Linked DNA regions of Homo sapiens: all the other regions are linked to region 4. The links are contacts of gene promoters, found by promoter capture Hi-C in blood cells and fetal thymus (Javierre and others, 2016). All regions are on one chromosome and are shown on one strand. The core of a region is centred on a gene start or on the middle of the fragment in contact, and the rest is flanking DNA. Distances in the headings are between cores, read along the strand shown.

What was found. Contacts are between HindIII fragments. The CHiCAGO score rates a contact against its expected background, and 5 or more counts as called.
Region 1: a fragment that was not itself captured here is called in contact with the fragment with the promoter of GORASP1 in region 4 in 1 of 17 cell types (monocytes); the score reaches 6.5 in monocytes.
Region 2: a fragment that was not itself captured here is called in contact with the fragment with the promoter of GORASP1 in region 4 in 1 of 17 cell types (activated CD4 T cells); the score reaches 5.2 in activated CD4 T cells.
Region 3: a fragment that was not itself captured here is called in contact with the fragment with the promoter of GORASP1 in region 4 in 1 of 17 cell types (total B cells); the score reaches 7.3 in total B cells.

The regions. Positions count from the first base shown.
Region 1 is chr3:38,490,359-38,493,058 of GRCh38, reverse strand. It overlaps ACVR2B (activin A receptor type 2B), which reads right to left. Exons shown (of 11, transcript NM_001106.4): 11 at 1-2,700. Among named protein-coding and RNA genes, the nearest start is that of EXOG, 4.6 kb to the left of the region's middle. The HindIII fragment of the contact is 2,092 bases long and covers 387-2,478 here.
Region 2 is chr3:38,171,297-38,173,996 of GRCh38, reverse strand. All of the region lies in intron 1 of OXSR1 (oxidative stress responsive kinase 1), which reads right to left. Among named protein-coding and RNA genes, the nearest start is that of OXSR1, 7.1 kb to the right of the region's middle. The HindIII fragment of the contact is 986 bases long and covers 836-1,821 here.
Region 3 is chr3:38,145,285-38,147,984 of GRCh38, reverse strand. No RefSeq gene overlaps it. Among named protein-coding and RNA genes, the nearest start is that of MYD88, 8.0 kb to the right of the region's middle. The HindIII fragment of the contact is 5,277 bases long and covers 1-2,700 here.
Region 4 is chr3:39,106,222-39,108,921 of GRCh38, reverse strand. GORASP1 (golgi reassembly stacking protein 1) reads left to right here and starts at 1,295. Exons shown (of 9, transcript NM_031899.4): 1 at 1,295-1,443. The coding sequence starts at 1,381. TTC21A (tetratricopeptide repeat domain 21A) reads right to left here and starts at 1,242. Exons shown (of 29, transcript NM_001366900.1): 1 at 1,058-1,242. The coding sequence starts at 1,084. RefSeq lists a silencer at 1,346-1,665. The HindIII fragment of the contact is 2,080 bases long and covers 253-2,332 here.

The sequences.
Region 1 (2,700 bases), core at 183-2,682, 620 kb after region 4:
ACTGCTTCTTCACACAGGGGGAAAAAACTACATTCACATCGGTTTATTTGAGGACCCAGTGCAGAGTTCAAGCAGCAAAACCCCAACTTAGCAGATCTAATTTCAAACTTGACACTCATTTCTAAAATTACCACAGTAAAAAGGAACAAAGATCCACTGCAAATGAATGAACTATGATACAATGTTCTTTCCAAAATGTTTTCATTTTGCAACTGTAATTACATGGATGTCTGCTTTAGGCCATTTTAGGTGTATGTGTGTGTGTGTGTGTGTGTGTGTGTGTGTGTGTGTGTGTGTGTGTGTGTGTGTGTGTGTGTGTGTGTGTGTAATATATATATATAAATCAGCACACTTTTCAAATCCAGACAGGGTAACAGCAACAAGCTTAACTCTGTATATATATATATATTTTTTTTAAACATGATACTTTAGTATAACTTTTGTTAATTCAGTAGTACAAGCTATTTCTGTTCTACAAAATTTTTATTTTATAGCTACAAGGGTGAAAAGTGACCTACTACATTTACATCTCACATATCCTGGTATACAAACAGTACTTATTTGAGCCAAAAACTAGAAGTCTTTAGTTTTAGCACTTGAAAGAGCTTCCTTGCTTCTACAGCCTTAAATCATATACTAGTCACATTTCCAGAGTTTGCAATTACTCATCATTTTAAACTGTGAGAAACAGGTGAACCCAAACTTTTAATTACAATTTTTATATACAAGTTAGGTAACACAGCTCAATAAGACTTAGCTATCCATCCTAAGCCCAACACACACATTCTCCACTAAGTTAGACAAGTCTTAGGGTTTTCCTTCTTTCCCTTACAAATAATGTACAAATTTAGAAGTAGCTGGTAAAACTGATAGATATATATAAGATGGCAAATAAAAGGTGACATTTTCTGTTGGTTCCAAAACTGTTCCTGCAAATTTTGTCCTTTGCTGTGTTCTTTAACCGTATGTGTTACATGCAGAAAGCTCTTTTCATAAGAATTGACAACAAACTCGATGTAAGTTAAATTTACAGTACTGTATAAAGTTATTCAGATTCAAGGACAAATGTGGAAAAATATTAACAGGTGAAAAACTTGGCCTTTGACACTACCATTAAGATCATGTCCAGTTCATAAGCAGATTTTTGTACAGTTGAAAAATGGCATTGTTGTGGATTTGTGGTGTGGAACTGAAATCTAGAAATATATTTCTACTCTGCGGTAACCCTCTCCCTCAATTCTGAAGTACCACTCAACTTTCTCTGCATTTTTACAGAATTACAGAAAAAAAGAGGAAAAAAAAGCCGCTGGCATTTTAACAATTCCTTCCCTCACTGGCAGTCTTAACATTTTCAGATGAGGTCTCCTGAAGAATCTCTAATAATCACTTGCTCCCAGTCGGCCTTTCATGATGACTTGGACACTTTTCAAGTTAAAACTCAGATGTTGCCTAATCTTTTCTACTCTCATCTCTGTCATTGTTGGTAAAATTTGGGTGACTGCATTTTTCCCTTACGGAGAAATTATTTGGCTAAACACACACTTAACTCGTGGCAGTGCTCTGAGAAAACCCCACTCGGGCTAAAGCACTTGCAGGGACTGAAGTCAACAGTCCACTGAATGGGGCAGAGAACAAACACTTAAGATGACTGACTTGGGACCCTCACTGGGAACACACTGACCTTGTGTCCCATGGTCTGCGGAACAGCAGGTCTACAGGACTGCAGGAGAGCCCAGGAAGGTAGCCCATGCTCGTATAGCTGAGTTACCACTTTTAATCTTGGTCTGCCATCTATGCCCCAGAGACAAAAATTCAGATGCGGTGACTGCTGGTTAATTAAACTTTTTGAACTGGTAAAAAAGGCTCTTTAAAAAATATATATATTTATTTAAAATACATCAAAATGACAAACAGCCATATCCCACAAGGCCTAATTTCACAGCAACATATGCTACAGACATCTTCCCAAAATGCACTATGGTGGATAGTGGGTTTTTTATCCTGCCATTTAAAGGAATGTTCTACATTTGAGCATTAGCGACTGGAAATGTGTTACAAAGAGCTTATCTTTGGAACTAATTTGCGTGCAAGACCAGCCAATTAAATCGCTTTGCCTATTCAGACACACAAGAATACTGAAAATGGCAGAATTCAAAGAGGAACACAGGAAGCACCATTCAGATGACACTCTAGACCCATCCCACCACAATGCCATGACGAGCTTGCCAGAAGCCCTTTCTTCAGTCCTTGGGAAGAGTTTTGCTTTAAAACAAGTGCCCACGCTCAGCAGGGTTCCTGCATGTGTACGTTAAAAGTCTGCAGTATCAAGAGGACCCAGATGGCGACACTGTTCAACATGAGGTCTGAGGTAACTGGTTCTTAAAATACCTGGATCACAGAAGTGCATCCAGAAATTAGGGCTGGGAAAAAGGAAAAAGGTAGAGGTTGGGGACTAGAAAAGACAAGTAGAAAAAAGCTTACAGCAGTTGCTTTTGGGGCGAAGAGAGTGATAAAAACAAAGGCACAACAGAATTACATTCCAAGACACGTGGCTGGAGAGCAGAGAAAATGTTCTTTTTATGGGGAACAGATGGGGTTGGTTTCTGGAGTGCTACTAGATCTGCTGGAACTAAATTTATTCCAAGTATAAAAAGGGTAAAGTGTAAACCTATACGCTCAACCAGAATGAATAAAAAGCAC
Region 2 (2,700 bases), core at 79-2,578, 930 kb after region 4:
TAACCACATCATTCACTTCTTCACCTTCTTCAGGTCTTTCCTCAACTGTCATCTTCTCAGTGAGGTTTTCCCTGACCTAAAACTGAAACCCCACCTCCACCCCTAGCAGTCCCTAACCCCTTTCCCTGCTTTTTCTTCTTTAGAGTTTCTAGATTATAAACTCTGTGAAAGCAGGCATTTTTTGTGTTTGCTTCATTGTTTTATCTCCAGCATCCAGAACAGTGCCTGGCACATAACAGGAGTTCAAGAAATATTTGCTGAATGAATTAATCACATAGTGGGGTATATTTTCAAGGAAAAAAAATCTTGTTTGGGGCAGAACACACACAGAAATAGCCCAGTCTTCATGGGTGTTATTTCATCGTTACCATCATGTACATTAACATTCACTGAGCATCCATTCTGTGTGCCAAGTCTATGCTGAGCACTTTCTTTACTTACATTTCTTCTTTTCATCTAATCATTACAATAATTCCATGTGATAGGTATTCATGGTCTTACAAGACAATGTAAGTAAAGCAATGTAATTAAGGTAAAACTTAGGTCATACAGTTAGTTAGGCAGAGTAGGGCCTAGAAATAAGAACTACCTGAGTTTCAACATTATGCTCTTAATCAGTAGGCAACTACCTCTTCAGATTAAAGCTAACATTTATTAACTGATTACTATGCATCAGGTTAAATTATTTACTTGCAATACCCTATTTGACTATTTTCATTTTAAAAAAAAATGAGGCCAATATTCTTAGTTGCTTAGCAAACATACAATTTCCCCTTCTTTAGTAAGATAATCCTGACCTATTTTGTTTGAAGTAATAATGTGTCCAGCTAAAGCTTCATTTTGCAGTCTGCCTTGCAAATGACCAAATTATACAGTTCTGGCCAGTAAAATAGAAGTGGAAGTCACTGAGTAAGGCATCTAGGAAAGAAAGCCTTTTAAAAGAGAACCAACTCAGCTGTCATGTGTCTTTGTCCTTTTGCCATATTCTTCTGGACAAGAACACAAGCATGAGTCTAGAGGTGGAACAACCATCTTCCAACTATGAGAAGGAGAGTCACCTGCTAAGTGTGGTCGCATGAAAAAACTAGGAGCCTGGGTGCCTGACAGCACCTAGGCTGCCACCTCCAGTCTTCTTGTTATATAAGGGGGAAAAAGGATTTTATTAAGCCACTATTATTTCCATTTTCCCCACATGCAGAGAAATGTAAGCCTTATTTGATACAACACTATGAGGTTGTTGGCCCAATGCTGGCCTCATAGAAAATGTCACCTTAGCTGAGTCTCCCAATCAATGGAAAAATACACTATTAAGCACCACTCTATTGAAAGCACGAAGTCCTTCACATTTATGGAGGCGCTAAAGGTAAGGCCCTGGAATCTGTATTTGAAAACCACAACTTTAAACTCAAAATGTGTGGCTAGTAAACAATCAATGAAAATAAAAAGAAGGGAAAGTCAAGAATAGAAATATATTGCACTGCCTTCAAAGTGTCAAAGCTAGGTGAATCACACCTTAAACCTAGTATTAAGTTTTCAATTTTCTAGTCTGAGGTAAATAGTAAATACTTATTGAGACTTTTCAAGATGCAGGGCAATAAAACCTAACTGGCACAGCCCTCTCTGCCATCATATTGTATTATTAGCAATATCATGGTGATGGTCCTTACAGTTATACTACGATGTCCAACATAAATCCCTAAATCCATCTAAACCTGAATGAGGCCTGGACTAAGAAAAAAAAAGATGCGAAAATAAAATAAATGCAATAATGTTCCACTAAGCATTAAAAACAGATTCAAACTATTTTAAGTGTCACAAGCTTTCACATCACATAGTATTTCATATTTCATGGCAATACCAAAAATTGGGAAATATGAGGACAAGGGGAAGGGTAAAAAAAAGTCAGAGATAATAACAACTATCATTTTATACAAGCTAAACACTTCCCACAAATAATTACACTCAATCTATATAACGGCCCCAGTGACATAGGTACTATTCTCCCCACTATACAGACAAAAAGCTGACACGGAAACTAATCATATAATTTGTCTAAGATCACATAACTAGTAAGAGGCAATGTCAGGATTTGAATCTGGGTCAGTCTAACCCCAAAGCCCAAATTTTTACAGCTGCTTCAACACATGCCAAATACAGTATAACACATGCTCAGAAATTCTAATCTAAGACTAAGGGCTCAAAAATACTGAAAGATCAATGATTAATTGTGAGAATGATACTAACATCTTTTACACATAATCATACTTAAAGAACTTCAAATCTTGCCAAAGCATGCTTAAGGTGATACAATTCTTTAAAAAAAAAAAAAAGTCCTTTGAATTTTCAATCTATAGGCTTTTAATATGTTCCTAAGAGGAGATTCTGTTCTCTGTAGGATTTTACCAGAAAGACGAAGAACAAAACAGAATGTGAGAAACAATCCCATAAATAGTATACTGCTGAGAAGCAAATGTGAAAAAAATTACAGTTCAAATAAACATGTTACAGTTCAAATAAATGTACGTGTTTTGATGGAGATGACACCATTACACTGATTTCTCTAGAATACAATCCTTTGAAAACAAAATTTAAATGATCCCAAACCCTTTTTTCTAGATTTTAATCATGTGTTTCCTGAAAAAGTTGAGTGTAATCTGAAATCATAAAGATTCATTTTGAAGACTATAGCTTATTATAAAA
Region 3 (2,700 bases), core at 160-2,659, 960 kb after region 4:
ATTTTGATTTATTTATAGTGTTTGAGAGTATCTGTTTGAACAGATTTTTTAGTAGGTGCTCTAGGTGTAACATTATACATATGTTAACTTATCACAGTTCTACTTGTGTTGACATTTTATCAGTTTCAGTGAGGTATAGACACCTTTCCTTGCTTTAAGTGCCTTGACTCTCCCTCATTTATAGCTGTCCCAAATATTTCCTGTACATAAGTTGAAAACTACATCAGACAATGCATAGAGTGTTTAGGAGAGGAGGTAACCTGATGGATTACATATTTTGAGGAAAGAGGAAATTGTGGGGATCCCAGAGTTTCTTCTCCCAGCCAGTAGTCATTTCATTTCTCTTTTTTGTTTGTGAAATTGCCTGAAGCAGAAATTACCACTGTGCTTATCAACTTCCGTAATCTATCTTGCGCATGACCACTAAACTAATCTTTTGCTTAAACCATCAGATATAATTTTGACAATTTAAGAAAATTAAAGCGTACTCAATTTACTCATATTTTTACTGTTTCTCTTGTTTTTCTTTCTTAGTATTCCAAGATTTTTTTCTTGTATTTCTTTCTGTTTCAAAAACTTCCTTCGGCTATTCTTTTAGGGTAGGCCTGCTGTTGACAAATTCTCATAGTTTTTCTTCAACTGAGAATGTCTTGATTTCCTCCTCATTCCTGAATAATATTTTAACTGGATATAGAATTTTGAGTTGACAGTTTTTTTTTTCAGTCTTTGAAAAATGTTGGGCCAATGTCTTCTGACCTCTGTGGCTTCCAATGAAAGAAATCTGCTGCCATTCAAAAATTTGTTCATTATTGGTAAGGCATCATTTCTCTCTGGCTGCTTGCAATATTTGTTTCTTTGTCTTTAATTCTCAGAGGTTAGACTATGATGTACCTTGGTGTGGATTTCTTGGGGTTTATAATGGTTGGGGTTTGCTCACCTTATCAGCTCTATAGGTTTATGGGTTGTTTTTTTTTCCATATTGGGCAAATTTTCAACCATATTTATTTGTATACCCTTTTAGCTCCAACTTATTTTTCCTCTCCTTTTGGGACTCTGATGACATACATGTTAGACTTTTTTTGTTGTCCCACAAATTCCTGAGACTTAATTTTTTTCCAGTCTATTTTCTGTCTTTTGTTCAGATTGGGTGGTTCCTATTGGTTTGTCTTCAAGTTCACTGATTCTTTGCTATCGACATCTTACAACAGAACCCATCCAGTAAGTTTTTTCTTTTTTTTTTTTCAGTGCTAACGTTTCAATTTAATTGTTTATATCTTCTATTTCTTTTCTGAAACTTAAAAAAATTTGTTTCAAGCATGTTTACAATTACTTATTGAAGCATTTTTATACTGGCTGCTTTAAAGTTCTTGTCAGAAAATTTTGACATCTGTGTCATTTTGGTGTTAGCATCTGTTGGTTGTCTTTTCTTGCTCAAGTTGAGATTTCCCTAGTTCTTGGTATGATGACTGATTTTCAACCTTAGACATTTTGGATGCTATGTAATGAGGCTGGATCTCATTTGGATCTTCTGTTTTAGTTAGCCTTCTTTGACATCAAAACAATGCTGTCTGGTGGAGGTAGAAGTGCAGGTTACTCTATTGACATCCCAGGGTAGAGGTGAGGGAGAACAAGGGAGAGAGTGCCTAGTTACTGCTGGGTCAGGATGAGAGTTCAGGCTGCCCACTAAGTCTCCCCTGATACCACCTTGGCTGGGAGGGAGAAGGATGCCTTGTTACTACTCCCCATCTGGCCTCCACTGACATGATAGAGGACATTACTGCTGGGCAGTGGTGAAAGTCTTGACTCTCTACTAGACCCACTCTGACACCCAAGAAGGTGGGAGTGGAAATTTAGATTCCCCATTTTGCCTTTGCTGGCAGGGTGTAGGTAATACTACAATTTTTTCTATGGTTTAGCTGGAGTGGTTATTGTCTACAAACTTTCTTTCTTGCAAGACTGTCCCTTTCTGGTCGTTTGGCTAGTAAAAGCAGGTTTTCCTTTTTTTTTTTTCTTTTTTTTCCTTTACCTGTACTCATTAGTTTATAGGTTTCTGCCTTCTCCATACTCAGTCTGAGATCCATTAGGCATAGGCAAAAAGAAAACCCTAGGCTAGTGCCATGTCATTCCATAGGTCCTGAGGTCCCTAACCATTCTATCTTCTTCTCTCCACCTTTCAGAGTCTCCTTATATTTGTGTTTTATATAATGTCCAGGGTGTTTTGCCTGTATTTAGCAGAGGGAATAAGGAGAAGTGTTTTTACTCTATATTGTCTCAGAACCAGACATCCCCAAGGGCATTTAAAACATTTATTCTGTATCATCTGGCAAATAGCAGCCAGTGGGGACAATGTTCCCCTAAATTGATGGTGCGGCCCCTCATCTTCCACCCTTACCAGCCCAGTGTTCTGCTGTGTGAATTTTTTTTTTTTTTTGAGACAGAGTCTTGCTCTGTTAGCGCAATGGCATGATCTCAGCTCACTGAAACCTCAACCTTCCGGGTTCAAGCGATTCTCCTGCCTCAGCTACCCAAGTAGCTGGGATTACAGGAATGCACCACCATGCCTGGCTAATTTTTGTATTTTTTGTAGAGACAGGGTTTCACCATGTGTGCCAGGCTGGTCTTGAACTCCTGACCTCAAATGATCCACCCGCCTCAGCCTCCCAAAGTGCTGGGATTACAGGCATGAGCCGCTGTGCCCAG
Region 4 (2,700 bases), core at 46-2,545:
CCCTGGGAGCAGCTCCATGCAGTTTTCCCAGGAAAGAGTTTGGAGGTGTTTGTTTGGGGGATTACCAACAGATTCTGGTTCAACTATGATGGGGAATTCAACCAAGGCTTTGTCTTAGGAAGGGAATAAGGGGGGAAAAATGAGGACAAATAATAAGAAAAATTATACGAATTGTAGTTACAAGTTATTGTGGGCTTCATATCCACTATCCTGTGCATGGTCCTCTCAGTATCTTTCACAGCTAAGGAAGCTTAAGCCCATGGAAACTACAGCTTGACAAAGGGGCTGAGATTTTAAAGTTAAGTTTCACTTCCTCTAAGGTTTGTGGGTGCTAGGTTGGGAGCAGATGTGGTTGGACTGTAAACATCCTCATGGGCCATATGAAAGAGCCCAGACACCATCCTAAGGGTAACAGAAAGCAGAATGGTTTTAAGGCGAGGGATGTTTTCAGATGTACATTTTTGCAACAACCACTCTGGCTGCTTTTGCATGTGGGGGGTGTGTGCCGTGGTGGCAGCAGGGACTACTGATGCTGAAAAGAGCCACAGCAGAGAAACCAGATGGGAGGGAGGCTGTTGCAGGCTCTCAGGGGGGAGAGATGGTGCTGGTTCTGGGCTAGAAGATAAAAAGATAAAAAGAAAACCCAGGAGACATCAAGGAGCTGGCATTTCTTGTAGACAGGATTAGAAGATGAGTATAGGGAAGAGGTATGAGTTAAGGCTAGGAGATTAAATGGTGAAGCCATCAACTGGGGTGGGAGGCGCAGGCGAGAGTGAGCTGGGTGGAAGAAGGGATGATGACAAGAAGGGATAATGATAGTGATTGGATGAGCTGGTTTGGGGTAGCTCAAGAAACGGGGATGCTAATTTGGGGCTCAGGGTGCGCAGAAGCCACCGGAGAAGACGCCCTTGCCAGGGGGAGTGGGGCAAGAAAAGGCAGGACCGCCTGATATAACTGAGGACAGCGAAGGGTGGCAGGAGAGTAGCAGGGCAGACGGTCTCTGGGTCAGGGGCGGGGAGTCACGAGGGAGCCCTCGGACAGCGCCCGGGCCACGCACCATAAGGGAGGAGTCATTGCTGCTCATCTCGGGCCGCTCGCGGCTCCGAGTCCGGGTCTGGTGGGGCGGTGCAGAGCGGGATTCCCGAGGCAGGGTCGTGGGCACTCTATCGCGGCGGGCGGTTGAAGGCGTTACAGTCCTTGGAAACCGAGCTGCTAGCCGGTTGCTAGGAGCGTCCAGTGTCTGGAGTGGGAGGAACAAAACGCCTCACGTCACAAGGCGCAGGAATCGAGCGCCGAGAGAGCGAGTCGGTGCTACTGGCGTCGGGTCGGTCCGGGTAGGCGCAGCGGGACTGGACCTGGGTGCCGAGCGGAGCCGCTGCCATGGGCCTGGGCGTCAGCGCTGAGCAGCCCGCAGGCGGCGCCGAGGGCTTCCACCTCCACGGGGTGAGTTGCCGCCGCGGCGCCGGTGACCTTGGCGAGGCGCCCGCAACCCCGCGCCCGGGCGTCCGGTCGCCGGCTGGCTGGCGACTGCGGCGGGGTCCCGGCCCGAGTGTTTCCGCCTGGGTGGCGGGAGGTGCCCCCTGCCCGGTGGGAGCCTCCTGGGAGAGGCGGCCTCGCGGGACTCCCGGACCCTGGCTAGTCCGCGGCCGCGGTCGGGCCCAGCGCCCGCCCCAAGTGCCAGCAGTGCCGGAAGCGGAGCGTTTTCCTGGTCCGGCCGCCGGGAATGGCGCTCCTCCCGGGTGAAGAATGCACCACTACCAGTCGGGACGCACTCGTGCACTTAGCACACATTTACGCTCGCCTGCCGCGGGCCGCTCTCCGTGCTGGGCCTGGGAAGAGAGTCAGCCACGCCGAGGACAGTCCCGGGGGCCGGGGTTAACCGAGTGGACGCAGCTGCGGGGGAGCCCGTCGGCGCGCGTCCTGCCAGTCGTAGGGTCGTAAGGGCTTCCGAGGGTAGAGGACCGGTGCAAACCAGCCACGGGATAGTGGGGAGCGGGAGGGCCGGGAGAGTGCTGCAGAATCCTCGAGGAGAGCGTTTGCAGCTGGGGAGGGTCCCAGCCTTTAGATGCCGCTACATGGAGGTCTGGGCGAGCAGGCTTCCGGAGAGTGGAGACGGAGTGGGGTTCCTAGAACGGAGTGTGCTGTGAGGGTGAGGAGAGGGTCCCGCAGCCGGATGGAGATTTGTGCCTGCGGTGAGGGAAGGGCTATAATGTAGGTGAGAGGGGCTGGGGGTCTCTGACCCCGGAGCGCTGCGGGGAAGAGGCGTCCCTGCACCCCCCCTTTCCCTAGTGAAAGGCAGCTGGATGCAGAGATGAGTGGAGACAGGCAAGCTTGTCGGTTTGTGTGTTTTGAAGGTAGGGTCTGTTGCCAGCTAACCACATGAGAGGGCTAAAAGTTTCTTAACGTGAAAACCAGGCTGGCTTGGAGAACCCAGAGTTGACAGGATTTGTGCTTGGGAATGGGCTTTCTTATGGTGAGACACCAAACAGCAAGCGTGGACAGTGGAATGCATCCAGCCAGGAGCGTCTTCCAACAGGTTTGATTAAAGGCAAAGGAACTCAGGATATTGGCAAGAGGAGGGGTGGGGCGATGATGGGAGCTTCGAAGACGGGAGGGGCCTGCCTGATGGAGAGGGACAAATTGGAGAGGGACCAGGGATCAGAGGTTGTCAGTCACAAAAACAAAGTTTTGAGCTCCTAC